2 separate regions of the Homo sapiens genome follow, and region 2 is linked to region 1. Evidence: promoter capture Hi-C in 16 types of primary human blood cells and fetal thymus (Javierre and others, 2016). All regions are on one chromosome and are shown on one strand. The core of a region is centred on a gene start or on the middle of the fragment in contact, and the rest is flanking DNA. Distances in the headings are between cores, read along the strand shown. Region 1 holds the start of NUP58 (nucleoporin 58). Region 2 overlaps CKAP2 (cytoskeleton associated protein 2).

Region 1 (6,512 bases), core at 2,754-5,253:
GCAAATGGTTACATGTAATTTCTAAAAGATAACCTCTTTTCTGGATATTTCAGAGGACCAGAACTGGAGATATTACAGACTCCTTTCAATAGACTTCAGATTCCCACTTCTTTTCTGTCTTAGAACCGCTGCTGAGAGAGGTTCTCAAATGGTTATCCTGATCTGAACACCCCCACCAAAGCAAACCTATTTTAGATATGTTAATGCAAACACAAATTAGAAGTTTTAGCCTGGGCAACACGGTGAAAACCCATCTTTACAAATAAACAAATTAGCCGGGCATGGTGGTGGACACCTTTATGTAGTCCGAGCTACTCGGGTGGCTGAGGTGGGAGGATCGCTTGAGCCAGACAGGCAGAGGTTGCAGTGAGCCAAGATGGTGCCACTGCACTCCAGCCTGGGCACAGAGCCAGACCCTGTCTCAAAAAGGAAGAAAAAAAAAAAGTAAATTTTTTACAGTGCTATTTCTGTTTGGATAATTCAGTTTGATTATGACATTAACAATGTCATCATCCTGCTGGCAAATCAGCAAAAGATGCAGTTCTCTAACAGAATGCTTACAATATAAGAAGCAAGGAAAGACAAGATGGCCTACTCTAGAATTTAGAATCTGAAGCACTTGCTTCATCCCTGGAAGCAGCAATTCACATAGAACTGACACATAGGTTCAAGTCCTCTAATGTTAAAAAGCGTAATATTTAGAAGATCCTTTGGGATAGGATTTGTTACTCTACCTAGACTAGGTCAGGAAGGTTAAGCCAGATTCCAGTGCTCCATGGTTCTGCTCAGTTGCAGATAGGATTCAGACTTATGTATGCGTAATGCTCAGTTACTGCTATTTTACTGTTTTCCATTCACTAACCAAACCATTGAGCTTATTGAAAGCTGCTTTCTTTGGAGTTTCATTTCTGTAGAATGTAAGGATGTAATTTCTTTCTTCACTAATAGGACAAGCGGCACAAGGTATATGAGATGAGAAGGGGTCTCCAAGATTTAGTCTTATACTTAGTGCATCTAGTGGTAGATTGCAATACTGCTCATCAGATATTCCAGATTTTGTCTCTGCAGTGCTCCTCCTTGAGTGATTTGGGGATTTATTATGTAGTATAACTTAAAATATTCTGCCAGATACAAGGCAAGAAATGCTACACTAAAATTTTGATAAAGTTGAAAGGATAGTTTGCTTGTTAATTGGAATGGCTTCCCCCAAAACCCAAACTTTAATCTAAGTCAGACTTCCTTTATTTCTTTTATAAACGTTCAGCTTCAAAACAGTTATAGATGTGGCTGGGCGCGGTGGCTTACGCCTGTAATCCCAGTACTTTGGGAGGCCGAGGCAGGCAGATCACAAGGTCAGGAGATTGAGATCATCCTGGCCAACATGGTGAAACTCCAGCTCTACTAAAAATACAAAAATTAGCTGGGCATGGTGGCGCATGCCTGTCATCTCAGCTACTTAGGAGGCTGAGGCAGGAGACTCGCTTGAACCAGGGAGTCGGAGGTTGCAGTGAGCCAGGATCTAGCCAGTGCACTCCAGCCTGGTGTCAGAGTGAGACTCCATCCAAAAAAAAAAAAAGTTACAGATTTACAGAATTATTACATAGTGTGCTCATATTCCTCACACCCAGTTTCCCCTATTAGGAAATTAGTCCCTATGATATTTTTACATGTTCTTTCTTTCCTGTGAATATTACAAGTCTTGTTCATTATTATATATTTAAGTGCCAGCCATTTTGCTATTACTAATTGTAGGTTGGTATTCTTCAATAGTTTTGGAAAGAATACACGAGAAAATCAAAAGACATAGGGAGTGCCTTTCTATCTTCCCATAAAAATCATCAGGATCTTTTTTTTTTTCAGTCAAAAGGAAGTCTCCTAGACTTTATGTGAACAATCCTCTTACTGACCACCCTATAGCCATCACTGAAAATAGCTTTCTCTATATCACCGAAGCTTTAAAACTCACAACAATCTTTTATTTTTGCCTCCTGTTCGATAACTATGAAGTTTTTATTTATATCTTAATCCAAATATATCCCTTTTTTCTTTTTTATCATTCCCATTATGACTTCTATGACGTTTAAAATGTTATGGCCGGGCACAGTGGCTTACGCCTGTAATCCCAGCACTTTGGGAGGCCGAGGTGGGCAGATCGCTTGAGGCCAGGAGTTCAAGACCAGCCTGGCCAACATGGTGAAAACCCATCTCTACTGAAAAATACAGAAATTAACCGGGCGTGGTGGCGTGCGCCTGTGATCCCAGTTACTTGGGAGGCTGAGGCAGGAGAATCGCTTGAACTCAGGAGACGGAGGTTGCAGTGAGCCGAGATGGCACCACTGTATTCCAGCCTGGGCAACAGAGCGAGACTCTGTCTCAAAATAAAGTAAAATATAAATTAAATTTAAAAAACAAAATAAAATGTACGTTTCTTTTTAATTATACAAACACAGAGGTGGTGTATTAGTCTGCTTGGCTGATACAACAAAATACCATAGACTGAGGTGGCTATAACAACAGACATTTACTTCTCTCAATTCTGGAGGCTAAGTCCCAGATAAAGATGGGGCAGTTTGGGTTCCAGGTGAAAGCCCCTTCTTGCTCTGTCCTCACATGGCACACAGAGGAGAACAAGCTCTTCGTTGTTTTTTCTCATAAGGGCACTAATCTCGCCATGGGCGACCCACCAAGGTGACCTCATCTAAATTGAATTACCTCCCAAAGGCTCCATCTCCAAATACCAACATATTGGGGTGGGGTAGGGCTTTAACATATGGATTGGGGGAGGAGGGAAATAGTTCAGTCCACAGCTGGTGGCAATGCCCAAGCTCAACGGAAGATTAAAGTACTGAATTAGGGAGAACTGTGAGATGAGGTTAGAAAGACTAATCATACGGAGGTCATCAAGTGCCAAACTAAAGAGCCACTGGGCTTTTTAGATCATAAATCCGGGGGTTGCTTATGGGATGGATTTTGTTAGAGATCACGAGTAGGAAAACCATTTGGGGGAGTAATGTAACAATCCCTGAGGGAAAAATAAAAACTAACACTATGATGACAACCCTCGAATGCACCACCACCAGGAAGCCTTTCCTGATGCTTCGCCAGAGAGGTTCTCTTTAAACGCGAATTTTTCTTGAGTTATCCTAGAAATGTAAGTTACACCTCACATTTCGCCTTCTTTCGTACATGTTCCTGTGCGTTTCCTAATCCTTCCACTTTGTAGTTCCTCCAGCACCGGTTGTGTCCGAGGGCCCTTCTGGCGGAGCCACACTCGCTCGGCCCAAGGTCCCGCCCTCCAGCATCAGGATGCACGGACAGTATTTGTGGACTTGACCGCATCCCAGGAAATCCAGCGGGCCTGGCCACTTCTGGGCGCCAGGACCACAGCCGGCCACCCCACGGACGCCTGGGACGCTCTTCTGGGCCCCCTTCGGGGCTGGGCGTCGGGCTCGCAACAACTGCGACCAACTGGCTCCGCGAGGCCTGGGGCGCAGGGGTGGGGCTCACGTCGTGGGACGGTTGCATGGATTATTTTCGATTGATTTCCGAACCTTCAGGAAGCAGACACGCTCCCCTTCCTTCTTAGGGATGGGGCGGCAGCCAACGAAAGCCCGAAGCCGCCTCCTTTTCTGAGTGGGGAGCTTAGAGATGCTCAGGAGGGACCTCCCCGATTCTGCGATTCTGAGCATCAATTTTGGCAGGAGGCTAGATAGAAGTAGCAATTGACATTCATCACCCTAAAGTGCGGATTATGTCAGTACAGATGCTACGATAGAAGAACTAAAAAATGACAGAAATGGTTTTACTGTTTTTAAACTCTGGGAGCCTACTCCTTTAAGAGATTAGGCAGTACGCCTATTCTCGCCTGGTCCCAGCGTACCTTGCGCGGCTCGCCGTCCCCCACTCACGTACCAGGGCTCATTGCGTGACGGTTACACTTCCGGCGGGCTACGTGCGCGCGGCGAGCGCCGGGCGTACTTTTGCGTGGTTGCTCCACCCCCTCAGCCTTGCCTTCGCCGCCGTTGGGGCTGGAAGTTCCCGCCAGGTCCGTGCCGGGCGAGAGAGATGCTGCCCGGCCCGCCTCGGCTTTGAGGCGAGAGAAGTGTCCCAGACCCATTTCGCCTTGCTGACGGCGTCGAGCCCTGGCCAGACATGTCCACAGGGTTCTCCTTCGGGTCCGGGACTCTGGGCTCCACCACCGTGGCCGCCGGCGGGACCAGCACAGGCGGCGTTTTCTCCTTCGGAACGGGAGCGTCTAGGTAACCGCACTTTCTCGCCTTCCTGGGCCGGATTCACCCCCACCCCCACCCCCGCAAAGCTCCCTTGGTGTCCCCATCCTGTCTCTTCCCTCTGGCTTCCTTCCCAGTGGGGCTGGAGAGAAGCACTTAATCTAGCCGCCCGGCGTCGTAGGCCTCTCGCCGCGGTACCCGGGCCCAGCGCGGCCTGGTGAAGTGGAGGGCGGGATGGGTTCTGTGCTGTGAGGTTTCCAGAATCCACGTATAGTTCAGGCATTATTTGGACCTAGTGGGGTCTTGACTGCGTGGAAGGGCCTTGGGGTCTACCCCGGAGCTTTAGCGATGTGTCAGTCTTAGGCATAGAATGAACATTGAATGAATGAATGAAATTATAGCATACTGTGGAGTTTTATGATAGATAATTCCGATTTCATTGCAGCATTTGCGGTTTTGGATATGACGGTGTTTTAATAACTTTGTGGTTTTTAACCAGCTTTTCAAGCTTTTGTGCCACATGGGACCTTATCTGTTTTTGTTAAAAAAAACAAAAACACTTTTTTACAGTGTTTATTAGTGGTAATTTTCTGCAGTATGTGCAGATTAGTATATCTGATGCGAGAATGTTGTGTTGTAATAACTCAATTTGTCTTTTACTTAAATTACAAAACGTAGGTAGCATGTTCCTTGTTTTTGTGCAACCCATTAGTTCAGGTGGCGACAAAAACATAACTATCCAGAAAGAAACAAAGTGGTGAGACATTTTAATGAGAGATTTAAGCTTTAGAACTCAATTTTTTTTAAGATAAAGGTGGAGGGGTTCATAAAGTTAAGGAGTGTGCACACTGTCAACAAGATACTTCCTGAAGCTTAAAAGATGTGGCTGTAGATTTAAAAGGCAAATACTTAAGCATGACCTGCAGTTTAAAAAGGGAGGGAGGAGGAACCACGGACTACACAGTCAATTCAGAAATTTGAATTTTCATCCATACCTCCGTTATTCTTACTCTACTCGCTCAACAACAGGTTCTGATAATGTTACTTCTGCCATTTCTGTTTGTCTTTATTTCCAGTTCCACAACCCTGCTTAGGCTATTGTCATTCGTGGAACAAATATTTATTGGACAGATTCCCATGTGCAAGGCTCTGTTTTAGGTATTAAGAGTCTTGCTCTCTTGATCCTTACATTCTTATGAAAATAATTTTGATTCTTGTCAGATTTTTAACCAGCTGTCTTTCTTGTTTTAGATGAAAACTACTCCAATCAACTTCTTCAATCTGTTCTGCCACATTTTAGCCAGAGTAATTGAAAAACAAAATTCCCATTGCTCTCTCTTTAATCATTACCCGCCATCGTTAGAATGAAGTTTAAAAAAGAAAAAAAAACTTACCATAGTCTGCAAGGTCCACTTCTGCTGGAACCTCTGGGGACTCATCTTGAGCGGGACTCATCTTGAGCCCATCTTTTTATTTTAGCTATGCAGACCCACTGTTAAAAACAAACACACAACTACCACCCTAAATAACTGAAATGAAGTTTCAGAGAAAGATACCCTTACTTCATGGGATGCACTTTGATATTTTCTATTTCTTTTTTTTTTTAATGTTGCTTATGACTTGATGAATTAATTTTTATATTTCTCTCATGGTCCTGATCTTAGAAAGCCTGTCCTAGCAACATGGCCTTTTCTCTTTTCAAGTGGGCTTTGCCAGCCCCTTCCTTGCAAATATCAAATGGTCTCTTCCCCAGAGAGGCCTTTTCTGACCTGTCAGTCTAGGGGAGATTTCCATTCTCCTAGTACTCTTAGAGTGCTGATCACAATTGTAATCAGTTTGTTATATTTATTGTTAACTTGTTTGTTGTCAGATCTCAGCACTAGAATAATTAATACCTATGTCTCTCACTGACTAGAAACTGCCTGAGGGCAAGGTCTGAGTCTTAATTTCCCACCTCATTGTCAGTCCCAAGGACAGTGCCTGGCATAGAAAAAGGGCTTTAATAACAATTTGAATGACTGAGCAAATGAGTTATTAGTAATAAGCTATAAAAAATTACCCAAGTTTTAGAGAGGCTTGGATAAATTAATGAAAGAGGAGACTGTCCGACATAAATTTGTTAGAGTGCTGGTTGGGAGGCCTGACAGCCCCTAGTGCCACCTAGTGATTTGATGTCTTGAGGTTGGTCATTTTAGGGGAGTTCTCACATCTGGAAAAGGAGTATAATATATTACCTGAGTTGATGAGTGAGATGAAGTATTTAAATATTTAGCATCAAGTCTG
Region 2 (7,355 bases), core at 1-2,500, about 27 Mb after region 1:
ACGCATCCCCCGACCCGAGGCTACGATGAGCACACCGGCCGTGCCCCAGGACCTGCAGCTGCCCCCGAGTCAGAGGGCGCAGTCCGCATTCAAAGGTGAAGGCCGCGGTGGCGGTGGCGGTGGCGGTGGCGGTGGCGGTGGCGGGCGCGGGCCCGGCGGTCGGGGCTCGGGGCCGCGCTGGCGCGCTTCACCTCTCCCCCGCTCTGTGAGATCCCTGAACGCGGCGTCGGCCTCGCCCTGCCTCATTCTTGGCCTTGTGGAACGGATCATAAAAACAGGAACCGCTGCGTGGTGTTACTGTGCGGTCGCTGCTGGCTGGGATGGGCCCTCCTAAGAAGGAATCCGTTAGGCGAGGGGAAACGCGCGGGCCTCAGGCCGGGGTCGGTGTCGGAGACCCTGGGTCCGCTTGGGGGCGGGGCTGCACAGGTTCAGGGACCGACTGCGCCTGCGCTGGGTCCTCCGCCTCTTAGGTCCCTAGCGAATTTCTGCAGGGCTGGGGTCGCATCATGTGTTATTTCCAATTTCACAGCTTCTCCTTCGACTTTATGGAAACCGAGGGTTGGTTGGGTCTTCAAAACTAATATTGTTATTCCCTTATTCTACACACGGGAAAGCAGAAGAAAGTAATTCTCATCTAACCCAGTTCTGGTAAATTAGAACTTTCGAGTCTAGTGCCTCACTTCTACCATTTAGTTTCTTAAAGCTTGGCTAGCAGGAGCTGTATGTAGAAAATGATGTTCTCCAGATTTTTCACAGGGAGTAGAGAATGTGATTCTTATGCAGAGGGGTTTTGGGGACCTGTTGTGGTAACAGTCTCTTCTAAGGTGATTTCTCAAAGGCAATATTGAATTGGAGAATTTTCTGTTATATAGATGTGACCTCAGGTGGAACCAGCTTTGGAAGTAAACTCTTCATTTAGTCAACAAGATTTATTTGCCGTTATCGATGTTTTAACTAATATTGACTTGTAGCTCTTACCTTTGTTATCTAGAGCAAAGAAGACAAAAACTCAAGGAACATCTGTTGAGAAGAAAAACGCTTTTTGCATACAAGCAGGAAAATGAGATGTTATCCAGGTAAGGTCAAGTTTATTTCTTTTCACTTCTGTAAAATTGTATCAGATCTGTCCAATGAAAATGTAAAGTAAGCCATATCTGTAATTTTAAATTTTCTAGTAGCCACATTTAGAAAAACTGCTTACATATTATTTTACGTCTTTTTGTGGTACAACGTCTTTAAAATCTGGTGTCTATTTTACAGTTACAGGACATTTCCATTTGGTCTATCCACATTTCAAGCACTCAGTAGCCACATTGGCTAGTGGCTACTTTATTGGATGGTGCAGCATTAGATCATCGTTTTATTAATTTTTTTTTTTTTGAGACAGAGTCTCACTCTGTTGCCAGGTTGGAGTGCAGTAGCGTGATCTTGGCTCACTGCAGCCTCCACCTTCTGGGTTCAAGTGAATCTCCTGCCTCAGCTTCCCAAATACCTGGGACTGACTACAGGCAAGTGCCACCATTCCCTGCTAATTTTTGTATTTTAAACAGAGACCGGGTTTCACTATGTTGGCCGGGCTGGTCTTGGACTCCTGACCTTGAGATCCGCCCACCTCAGCCTCTGAAAGTGCTGTGATTACAAGGATGAGCCACCGCGCCCGGCCTAGATTATCGTTTTCTACGTAAATTAATTCACAGTCTAAGAGAAAAAAACAATTATAAAGCAAAGTATGTGCATAGACTAGATTATCAACTTACTGTTTACACCACACAAAGGTCAGTCTTTCTATTATTTAGCAAAGCTTTTTACTCAGTGTATGGGGGAGTTCATCAGGGAAGGGTTGGGTGGCCCTCCCAAATGCTTAGAGATTACTAGTTGTAGTCTCAACCCTCCACAGAAATATCTTTATTATTTTGTTAAAATATCTTAGATAGTACATAGCTGTAGCAAAAACAAAAACCCATGAAAGTAGATGAAGCAGAAAGGCAAAAGGTCCCCTCACTCTCTAGGGATAACCAGTAATAACATCCTTACAGGCTTAGGCTGGGTGCTGTGGCTTACACCTGTAATCCCAGCACTTTAGGAGGCTGAGGTGGGCAGATCACGAGGTCAGGAGATCAAGACCAGCCTGGCTAACACAGTGAAACCCCGTCTCTACTAAAAATACAAAAAATTAGCCAGGCATGGTGGTGGGTGCTTGTAATCCCAGCTACTGGGGAGGCTGAGGCAGGAGAATCGCTTGAACCTGGGAGATGGAGGTTGCAGTGAGCCGAGATCGTGCCATTGCACTCCAGCCTGGGTGACAGAGCGAGACTCCGTCTCAAAAAAAAAAAAAATTGTCTCAGGTAAACAAAATTGTATATACCACCCACACACATATTCAGAGAGTGGAAATGATAACGCAAATGGGATAAAAATTTTAACAATAGGTGGATCCTGGGTAAAGAGTGTACAGATATTCTTTGACCTGTTTATATTTTTGCAACTTTGTGTAAGTTTGGCATTCTAAAATTTTAAAAATAATTTCTAACTTTATATTAATAAGTTGCTTTAGTTTGGAATAAACAGTTTATCCTTCACAAATAAATCTTTTATTTCTTTGTTTAAGACAAAAAGGTGATCCTAGGTTTTTTATTTGAATAAGTAAATGAATGGTGATAACCGTATACTGAAATAGGAAGCCTGAAGGAGGAGCTGGGGAATTAGGAGTTCTGTTTTGACTATGTTTGAGGTACCAACCAGACATCCAAGCAGATATGCCAAATAATTGTGTGTCTGAAGTTCAGGGGAGGGGTTGGGGCTGGAAGCATAAACTCAGGAATTGATTAGTATACAGATGATATTTACTTAAAAACCTTAGGATGGAATGAAATTACTAGGGAATAAGTAGAGATAATATGGATTCAGACAGTGACTCTCAACCACTTATTTAAATAAAGAATCCAACAAGGTCAGGGGTTTATAATACTCTTAATAGGAAGAAAAGAAAATTCTAAAACGCTTCATGTGGCTTAAGTACTACATTTATTCCTTTCAGAAAACAGATGTTGGCTGGGTGCAGTGGCTCATGCCTGTAATCCCAGCACTTTGGGAGGCTGAGGCGGGTGTATCACTTGAGGTCAAGAGTTCTAGACCAGCCTGGCCAACATGGTGAAACCCCGTCTCTACTAAAAATATAAAAATTAGCCGGGTGTGGTGTCAGGCGCCTGTAATTCCGGGGAGGGCCGAGGCAGAAGAATCGCTTGAACCTGGGAGGCGGAGGTTGCAGTGAGCCAAGATCAGGCCATCGCACTCCAGCCTGGGTGACAAGAGCGAGACTTTGTCTCAAAAAAAAAAAAAAGGAAAACAGATGTCAATTTAAATGTTATCACCTCAGCAGTGAATCATTAAATAAGACAACCAACCTGTGTTGCAGCTTTTCAGAATTAAACAGTTATATTTTACAATCTCTAAAGTATAGATATCCTAAGACTCATTTCCGATAACCCTTCTGAGGGCAGTTTTATAATAAGACAGAATAGGATTAAGTCTCCCCACTGGACAGGTGAGTAAGATGGGTTCTTCTTGTCATCCTGAGTTTTGTTTTGTTAGCTGGCAGTTAGCTACTAAGATACCCTGTTAAGTGGCACATTTTGATCTTCCTTCACCATTGTTCAAAATGTATAGTACAGGTTGTGTCAAAGTTCTGTTCCTTCTCCAAGCTGACAGAACAAATAGATATGAAAGGCAATGTAAGCAAAATTATTAACTACTAAATTATGTCAAATGTAAAATATATATATATATATTTTGTTTTGTTTTGTTTTTTTGAGACGGAGCCTTGCTCTGTCGCCTAGGCTATAGTGCAGTGGCGCGATCTCAGCTCACTGCAACCTCTGCCTCGTGGGTTCAAGCGATTCTCCTGCCTCAGCCTCCAGGGTAGCTGGGATTACAAGCATTTGCCACCATGCCTGGCCAATATTTTTGATTTTAGTAGAGACAGGGTTTCGCCGTGTTGGCCAGGCTGGTCTCAAACTCCTGACCTGAGGTGATCTGCCCACCTTCTCTACCCAGAGTGCTAGGATTACAGGTGTGACCCACTGTTCCTGGCCTCATTTTTTTTTTCAGAGAATGAGAGATCACGCATTTTAATGTGATCTCTGAACTTAGGATCTGTCTTAAAATCAATGGCATGTCTAATTGACCGTATTTTTTCCTATCGTTATAGTACACAAAATTGTTAAAATCACTTGCTAAGAGATGCTCACAGTCTGCCTTAGCCAGTTTATAGCTGTAAAAATAAGTTAAGTCAGTTTCTTGAGGAGGGATTTTCTTTGCAATACCGCCTAGAAACTAACGTTCTTTTTTTTGAGAGATGATCTCATTCTGTGTCACTCAGCCTCTAGTGCAGTGACGGGATCTTGGCCCACTGCCTCAACTCCCAGGCTCAAGCAGTCCTCCACCCCAGCCTCCCAAGTAGCTGGGACTATGGCACCCACCACCACACCCAACTAATTTTTTATTTTTTTGTAGAGATGGGGTTTTGCCGTGTTGCCCAGGCTGCTCTCGAACTCCTGAGCTCAAGTAATCCCCCCACCTCGGCCTCCCAAAGTGCTGCTATTACAGGCATGAGCCACCACAACCAGCAGTGCATATTCTTAATGTATCCTAATATAAATTAAGCTGTGAATGGCATATGGTAATTTTTGGATCACTTCTGGGAGGGCTCTTTAATAAAAGTATTTTCAATGTAGTACATCTGTTACTAAGTACTTAAAACTAACCCAAGGAGGTATTACTTACTAAAGGTTATTTGAAGACTTGTTTGAATGACTTGAGAATGATTTGAAATAAGATTATTAAGTATTTACAAATTCTATGGGCAGAGAGTGTTAGGACTTTTAGAAAATATCTTTAAATTCCTCAGCCATTTGTTTACACTATTTTTTTTTGAGACAGAGTCTCTCTCTGTCACCCAGGCTGGAGTGCAGTGGCTCGATCTTGGCTCACTGCGAACTCCGCCTCCCGGGTTCATGCCATTCTCCTTCCTCAGCCTCCCTAGTAGCTGGGACTACAGGACTACAAGCGCCCGCCACCATGCCCGGCTAATTTTTTGTATTTTTAGTAGAGACGGGGTTTCACTGTGTTAGTCAGGATGGTCTCGATCTCCTGACCTCGTGATCTGCCCACCTCGGCCTCCCAAAGTGCTGGGATTACAGGCATGAGCCACCGCGCCTGGCCGCTTAGGACAAATTTCAACTCAGGTCTTTTTTAAATTTAAAATTAGTAAGTCAGTTAATTGTTAACATTGCCCTCTTCTTCCTCCCCAAAAGGAAGCCTCCTTGGTACAGGATTGATTGATCATTTTGTTTGTTTGTTTTTAAGTAGTAGAGATCAGAGAGTTGTGACATCTGAGGACCAAGTTCAAGAAGGGACTAAAGTGCTGAAACTTAAAACAAAAATGGTAAGATGTGGACATAGCACTCTTAAACTGTCCCCTTTTCCATTTTGCCTTTCCTAAACACTTTTCTTAAATAATTCTTTCAGGCTGATAAAGAAAACATGAAGAGACCTGCAGAGAGCAAAAATAATACAGTGGTGGGGAAACATTGTATTCCTTTAAAACCTTCAAATGAACTAACCAATTCAACTGTAGTAATTGACACACATAAACCTAAGGATAGTAATCAAACTCCGCATTTGTTACTAACTGAAGATGATCCCCAAAGTCAACATATGACATTAAGCCAGGCATTTCACCTTAAAAACAATAGTAAAAAGAAACAAATGACTACAGAAAAACAAAAGCAAGATGCTAACATGCCCAAGAAACCTGTGCTTGGATCTTATCGTGGCCAGATTGTTCAGTCTAAGATTAATTCATTTAGAAAACCTCTACAAGTCAAAGATGAGAGTTCTGCAGCAACAAAGAAACTTTCAGCCACTATACCTAAAGCCACAAAACCTCAGCCTGTAAACACCAGCAGTGTAACAGTGAAAAGTAATAGATCCTCCAATATGACTGCCACTACTAAATTTGTGAGCACTACATCTCAGAACACACAACTTGTGCGACCTCCTATTAGAAGTCATCACAGTAATACCCGGGACACTGTGAAACAAGGCATCAGTAGAACTTCTGCCAATGTTACAATCCGGAAAGGGCCTCATGAAAAAGAACTATTACAATCAAAAACAGCTTTATCTAGTGTCAAAACCAGTTCTTCTCAAGGTATAATAAGAAATAAGACTCTATCAAGATCCATAGCATCTGAAGTTATAGCCAGGCCTGCTTCATTGTCTAATGATAAACTGATGGAAAAGTCAGAGCCCGTTGACCAGCGAAGACATACTGCAGGAAAAGCAATTGTTGATAGTAGATCAGCTCAGCCCAAAGAAACCTCGGAAGAGAGAAAGTAAGTAGATATAATTTTCTTTATTACATTAGTTTTCAATAAAGTACTGTTTGTAGATTTGGATTATAATTTCCTTGACTGCATTAGAATTTTCTTTCATGGTTTCTCTTCTGTCATATGCAGGCAAATTTATATTGTGGAACAATATGACCTAAAAGTTTTTGTGTTTGAGTATGTTTTATAAGGTTGCTTTTTAAAATCTAAGGTAAATGCTTAATAATAATTGGGAAATACTTTATAATCTCAAATCAAAAAATGCATTCATGGAATCATTGAGCATAATTGACGTTGATATGTTTAATATTTCTTCAAGCTTGTGAACTATATATGCCATTAAAGTAAGATTACTTAAAAATATGATTTTTTCTTTTAACTTTATTTGACAGAGTTCTGTCAGCAATTTCAAAGTAACGTTTATATCTGCTTCTAACTATAGAGCTCGTCTGAGTGAGTGGAAAGCTGGCAAAGGAAGAGTGCTAAAAAGGCCCCCTAATTCAGTAGTTACTCAGCATGAGCCTGCAGGACAAAATGAAAAACCAGTTGGGTCTTTTTGGACTACCATGGCAGAAGAAGATGAACAAAGATTATTTACTGAAAAAGTAAACAACACATTTTCTGAATGCCTGAACTTGATTAATGAGGTAGAGTCTTTATATTTGCTTAGCATTTTATAGTTTGCAAATTACCTTCATAAGCATTATTTCATTAAATTATATTGTCAGTCTTTTTGACCAGGTGATGTTGGTGATACTATGTTGACTTAACATTAACTGTGAGGTTATTTTAACAATTATTTAATTGCGAGATACACTGCTTCATTCATTAATTGTGAGCTTATTAGCCTTTAACTGACTACATTTTGCATTGAGTTCATATAAATATACAGGTTGAGTATCCCTTATCCAAAATGCTTGGGACCAGAAGTAATTGAAGATGTTTTTTGTTGGATTTTGGAATATT

What was found. Contacts are between HindIII fragments. The CHiCAGO score rates a contact against its expected background, and 5 or more counts as called.
Region 2: a fragment that was not itself captured here is called in contact with the fragment with the promoter of NUP58 in region 1 in 1 of 17 cell types (non-activated CD4 T cells); the score reaches 6.2 in non-activated CD4 T cells.

What each region holds. Positions count from the first base shown.
Region 1 is chr13:25,297,622-25,304,133 of GRCh38, forward strand. NUP58 (nucleoporin 58) reads left to right here and starts at 4,004. Exons shown (of 16, transcript NM_014089.4): 1 at 4,004-4,259. The coding sequence starts at 4,153. RefSeq lists enhancers at 3,660-3,899, 4,060-4,139, 4,250-4,299. The HindIII fragment of the contact is 2,784 bases long and covers 1,952-4,735 here.
Region 2 is chr13:52,455,532-52,462,886 of GRCh38, forward strand. CKAP2 (cytoskeleton associated protein 2) reads left to right here. Exons shown (of 9, transcript NM_018204.5): 1 at 1-95; 2 at 992-1,076; 3 at 5,368-5,443; 4 at 5,527-6,395; 5 at 6,832-7,036. The coding sequence starts at 26. Among named protein-coding and RNA genes, the nearest start is that of CKAP2, 3.7 kb to the left of the region's middle. The HindIII fragment of the contact is 1,098 bases long and covers 702-1,799 here.